Regions from separate parts of the Homo sapiens genome. Here region 1 is linked to region 2. Evidence: promoter capture Hi-C in human tissues and cell types (Jung and others, 2019). All regions are on one chromosome and are shown on one strand. The core of a region is centred on a gene start or on the middle of the fragment in contact, and the rest is flanking DNA. Distances in the headings are between cores, read along the strand shown. Region 1 holds the start of LOC124903552 (a long non-coding RNA gene). Region 2 holds the start of PLIN1 (perilipin 1).

Region 1 (2,726 bases), core at 114-2,613, 160 kb before region 2:
AGAAGAAATGGAGACTTGCTGGGTGAGGGCAGAAGCAGAGTTGGTATCCGGAAAGAAGGCAATAGGGGAAAAATGATTGTGAGAGAGTTTTCATCCACTTTTGCCGTTCCCTCCACGTGGGGGTGAGCCTGCCAGGTGGGGGTTCACTGTAGATGTGCATACTCTTTGCGTTTTGTCACCAGCTCTTCTTTATCTGTGATACCCCCCACCTTCTCCCAGCTTGTTGCCACATGACACTTCCAAAGCCAGCTCTTTTCATCTCACATTATTAGTTGGCAAGCAGTTGCCCTAGAGCTGTGACTGTCCTTTTCCTTTTAAGAACTTCCCGGTGACTTTGCACGTTTCAATAAGAGTCTTTGGTCTCTTGAGGAAAGGGTTTTGTTTTGTTTTGTAACCAGAAAAGTGCCCCTGACAAATCACCTTAGATTATTTCAGCATTTATTGGGTACCCACCATGTGCCAGGTACTGTGAGAGGCTGGGGCTGTGAAACTGTATAGGCCACACTCCGCCTCTGAGGAGCTGGTAGTCTAGTAGGACTGCAGGCTTTGGATCCCTGTGCCAAACCCCATCTAACCTCAAGATTGTTTTGTTGGCTACTTTTGAGGAATAAGGGGGGAAAGTTAAAACTTCAGTTGTGTGTGCTCAGTTTGGAATTTTTCTAGGCATCCTTCACCTGTTATTTTGTTTGTTTGTTTGTTTGAGACAGAGTCTCACTCTGTTGCCCAGGTTGGAGTGCAGTGGCGTGATCTCAGCTCACCGCAACCTCCGCCTTCTGAGTTCAAGCGATTTTCCTGCCTCAGCCTCCCTAGTAGCTGGGACTACAGGGGCCCGCCACCACTCCTGGCCAATTTTTGTATTTTTGGTAGAGATGGGGTTTCACCATGTTGGCCAGGCCTATCTCGAACTCCTGACCTCAGGTGATCCACCCACCTCGGCCTCCCAAAGTGCTGGGATTACAGGCGTGAGCCACCACACCCATCCTGCTTGTTTGTTTTTGTTTTTGCTTTTTTTTTTTTTTTTTTTTTAGCATTAAGCAGATAACAGTGAGAATTTGTCTCATACTCGCCTCTCATTTCTTCTTAGGGTGGCCTTTCAGCAGCCCCTGCGCGGGCTGTGTCTGCTGTGAAAAACATCAACCTGCCAGAGATTCCTCGGAACATCAACATTGGCGATCTCAACATCAAAGTTCCCAACCTGTCCCAGTTTGTCTGAGGATCAAGTATTGGCCTGAAATAGAGTCCTTAAGACAAGCAAAGACAAGCAAGGCAAGCACGTCTGGAAACAGAACCCATTTTGAGCCTTAGAAGAGTCAAGCCTCAGGACCTGGAAACTTTGTGTCTGGGGAAGACTGTTTGGCATGGAATAGGGAAGGGATTCCTATTGACACTGCTCGGGTGCACCCAGTTCTCACATGTGCAGTCATGCCGTTCTCTGATGCATACGGCCACTGCAGATGTGAGGGGCCCTGCCTTCCTCAGTAGGGAGTCAACATGCCCAAGTCATTTGCACCTTTACCTCTCACATGGATGCTCCCAAGGGTTAGGGACTGCATTGAGCAGGCCCACCTGCTTCCCAGAACCTCCTCACTAGGGCTGAGCACCTTCTCTGAGTAGAGTCTTCATCCTTAGCACCACAGACTTCTGAGGTCCTGTGCCCTTTACTTGCTGGTGAGGTGTCATAGGTAGAAAAGGGCTGGCCCTTCAGATCTGGGGGTGTGGTGAGTGGCAAGTAAGGGCAGAATTTTAGGAGAACCAGAGTCACCCGCTGGCTCTACTGAGATTGTTACACCCAGAATCCTTTTGTGTTTTTTTGTGGTTTTTTTTTTTTGAGGTGGAGTCTTGCTCTGTCACCCAGGCTGGAGTGCTGTGGTGCAATCTCGGCTCACTGCAACCTCTGCTTCCCGGGTTCAAGCATTTCTCCTGTCTCAGCCTCCCCAGTAGCTGGGATTACAGGCACCCACCACCATGCCCAGCTAATTGTTGTATGTTTAGTAGAGACAGGGTTTCACCATGTTGGCCAGGCTGGGCTCGAACTCCTGGACCTCAAGTGATCTACCCGCCTTGGCCTCCCAAAGTGCTGGCATTACAGGTGTGAGCCACCGTGCCCGGCCACCAGAATCCTTTGGTATAGCCAAGCCTTTTGGTTACCGCCTCATGAAGAATATGCTTCCCGCATTGTCCTAGTCCCAGTTGTATTCTCACAGGTGTTATGTGCAGGACACAATCCAAATCATAAACCTGGCTCATGCCCAACACATTTCTGCTAATAGGGAGAGGGACCCACCACACACCCACACATGCCAGAGGTCCCTCCTCACAGAGGAGAGGGCCTGTGTCTGTAGAAGGTTAAAGCTGACAACATGTGAAACATCCCAGAATTATGACTCTTCCCAAGTTTAAAATACATTCTCCTCATGAGAGCAGAAGGTTTGTTGCTGTGTTGTGAATGATGAGCTGCCTCCATAGGGAACCCACTGCCACCTGGGCCAGCTTCTGGAGCATGAGAACCTGAGCCAGGGTCACCCTTGTGGGGCCTGGACATGACGCACGCTGGCTGCGACTAGGAGCAGGGCTGCCTCTTCTCCCTCCCCAAGGTCTGCTTGTGGGCACGCTCTGTTCCCTCAGGTGCCATTCTCCCAGGGCTTAGGCGCCCATAAATGTTCTTTCTGTGGTGGAGTAGGGCCTCCTGCTTCCATACTGTCGCATGGGCTAGATCTCAGGTGTGG
Region 2 (2,700 bases), core at 73-2,572:
AGCCCTATGTTCCCTCTGGCCCAAAGCCACTACTCTGAAGGCTGAAAACTGCCCTTTGGCTCAGGTTGCTGTCCAGTCACAGCCTCACAGATAATTTGTGCTGAACCTTGAGGTGAGGGCAGAGGCCACTTCTTTAAATACTTTGTCTTCTCTACTGCCTTACATTTGAAAAGCACAGGTTGGATCAATAAGTATTAAACGTATAGCGTATTACTCCTTTGAAGCCTCCCTGCTTGACTCCTCCCTTTCCTGCCTTCTCATTCCCTACTTTATTGCATCACAGATACGTAATTTATTACCAAGGATCTTTCATAATTCCCCACCCCTGCCTCTTTCTTCTCTTGCCCACACTGTGTGACTTAACAGAGTCAACAATACATATAATTCCACCAGCAACAAAGAAAATAAGTTTTGTTTTCCTATTGTCTGTTTTCATGAAGAGGCCCTTCTTAGTTAATCTGAAAGCTATGGCTTATACCATAGTCCTCCATCATATCTAAAGCCAGGAACTAGAACTTGGGCTTGTGCTTGAGTCCTGGGTAAAGAAGGGTTGAGTGGTGCTAATTCTTGGCTGTCTGGGTGCTCTTGATTAGTGATAGAATCCTAGTCAACACTGTCGCTTATCCAGACCCAGGAGAATAAAAATCTACTTGGCTCTCCTACTCTTCATTCTGGTAGCATCTTAGGCCAGGTAAAGTTCAATAAATTTTTTTGAATTCTAAGAAGTGGGAATTCCTCCCTCAACTCAAAGGCTATATTGTCAAAAACTCAACTCCCGGCTCTGTCGCTTCTTCACTGAGGGCAATTTATCTCCATAATCAAAGATGAATACATTCAGATGAACTCTTCTGTGTGGGTTTAAATTTTACTGTTCAGCATTCAGTCTTGCTAGTAAATAAGAAAAGATGAGAGAAATGGATTGAAAACTCCCACAAGACCCTCTATGGAAAAGGAGCCAAAAGATTGCAGAGGTATATAGAACTTTAGAGCTTTTGAGTTTAATGATGTCTATCCCTATACCTTCTTTCTGGAAAGCAGATTTTTGTGAATTGAGGGCAGGAACATTACAGAACTGATGCTTCATGGCTCTGGAATACTAAGTCCTCTGAGCCTGGATCTCCTTCAGCTCTGCCACCTACCTCCTTGTTTGCTAAATGTCCTTAGAGAAGTTAGGATATGCCTGGGGAACCCTGGGTCATATAACCATGACAACTGGCTGACCCTGTTGTCTCTCCCTCTCTGCCCTCCTCTAGCTGGGAGGTGGAAGCAGCATTGCCCAAGCCTCCCAGGAGTGACAGGAATTGTTTCTGCCTGAGGAGACACTCTGCAGCCTGGGCTCTGTGAGACTGAGGTGGCGGTCAGCCGGAGTGAGTGTTGGGGTCCTGGGGCACCTGCCTTACATGGCTTGTTTATGAACATTAAAGGGAAGAAGTTGAAGGTAAGGGCCTCTTGGGGATTTTGCTGGGGATGAAAAACTCTGCAGGGAAACTACTGAGGGAGAGATTCTGGTATAGATACCAGAATCTAGAAATAGAGGAATTGGATAGGCACAGTGGATCATGCCTTTAATCCCAGCACTGCAGGTGGCCAAGGCAGGTGGATCACTTGAGCCCAGGAGTTCAAGAACAACCTGGGCAACACAGTGGGATCCTGTCTCTATAAAAAAAGAGAAAAAATTAGCCCTGCATTGTGGTGCATGCCTGTAGTCCCAGCTACATGAGAGGCTGAGGTGGGAGGGTACCTTGATCCCAGGAGGTCAAGGCTGCATTGAGCCATGATCGTGCCACCACATTCCATCCTGGGCAACAGATTGAGACCCTGTCTCAAAAAACAGATAGGGAGAGGGGGAGAGGGACAGACAGAGAGAAAGAGAGAAATAGAGGAATTAACCCAGAGCCTTTTCAAAGATGAAACCTTTAACTTGTTTATTTATTTTTTTAGAGATGGGCATCTCACTGTATTGCCGAGGCTGATCTCAAACTCCTGGGCTCAAGCAATTCTCCCATGTCAGCCTCAGTAGCTGGGATTACAGGTGCTTGCCAGTGCACCCAGCTTGAAACTTCTTGTTTTAGTCTCTTTTGGACCCTCATTTAAGAGCCTTAAGATTTTATCTAAAACTTTTTATCTCTTATGGCTACCTGCATTTTTTATTTCCTAACCTGAACTCCTTTTTTTTTTTGAGACAGAGTCTCCCTCTGTCACCCAGGCTGGAGTGCAGTGGCAGGATCTCAGCTCACTGCAACCTCCACCTCTCAGGCTCAAGCGATCCTCCTGCCTCAGCCTCCCAAGTAGCTGGGATTACAGCTGCCCACCACCACGTCTGGCTAATTTTTGTATTTTTAGCAGAGACGGAGTTTCACCATGTTGCCCAGGCTGGTCTTGAACTCCTGAACTCAGGTGATCTGCCTGCCTTGGACTCCCAAAGTGCCGGGATTACAGGCCTGAGCCACCGCGCCTGGCCTCTTAACCTGAACTCTTATAGGAAACATTATTCTTGGCCGGGCATGGTGGCTCTTGCCTGTAATCACAGCACTTTGGGAGGCCAAGGTGGGCAGATCACTTGAGGCCAGGAGTTCGAGACCAGCCTGGCCAACATGATGAAACCCCATCTCTACTAAAAATACAAAAATTAGCCAGTGTGGTGGTTCATGCCTGTAATCCCAGCACTTTGGGAGGTCTAGGCAGGTGGATCACTTGAGG

What was found. Contacts are between HindIII fragments. The study calls those that stand out against the background at their distance.
Region 1: a fragment that was not itself captured here is called in contact with the fragment with the promoter of PLIN1 in region 2 in 2 of the 25 tissues and cell types used here (bladder and liver).

What each region holds. Positions count from the first base shown.
Region 1 is chr15:89,834,002-89,836,727 of GRCh38, reverse strand. It overlaps ARPIN-AP3S2 (ARPIN-AP3S2 readthrough), which reads left to right. Exons shown (of 10, transcript NM_001199058.2): 10 at 1,085-2,726. The coding sequence ends at 1,213. It overlaps AP3S2 (adaptor related protein complex 3 subunit sigma 2), which reads left to right. Exons shown (of 6, transcript NM_005829.5): 6 at 1,085-2,726. The coding sequence ends at 1,213. It overlaps LOC124903552 (a long non-coding RNA gene), which reads right to left and starts at 819. Exons shown (of 2, transcript XR_007064754.1): 1 at 1-819. The HindIII fragment of the contact is 6,289 bases long and covers 1-2,726 here.
Region 2 is chr15:89,677,989-89,680,688 of GRCh38, reverse strand. It overlaps PLIN1 (perilipin 1), which reads left to right and starts at 1,322. Exons shown (of 9, transcript NM_002666.5): 1 at 1,322-1,438. The HindIII fragment of the contact is 12,360 bases long and covers 1-2,700 here.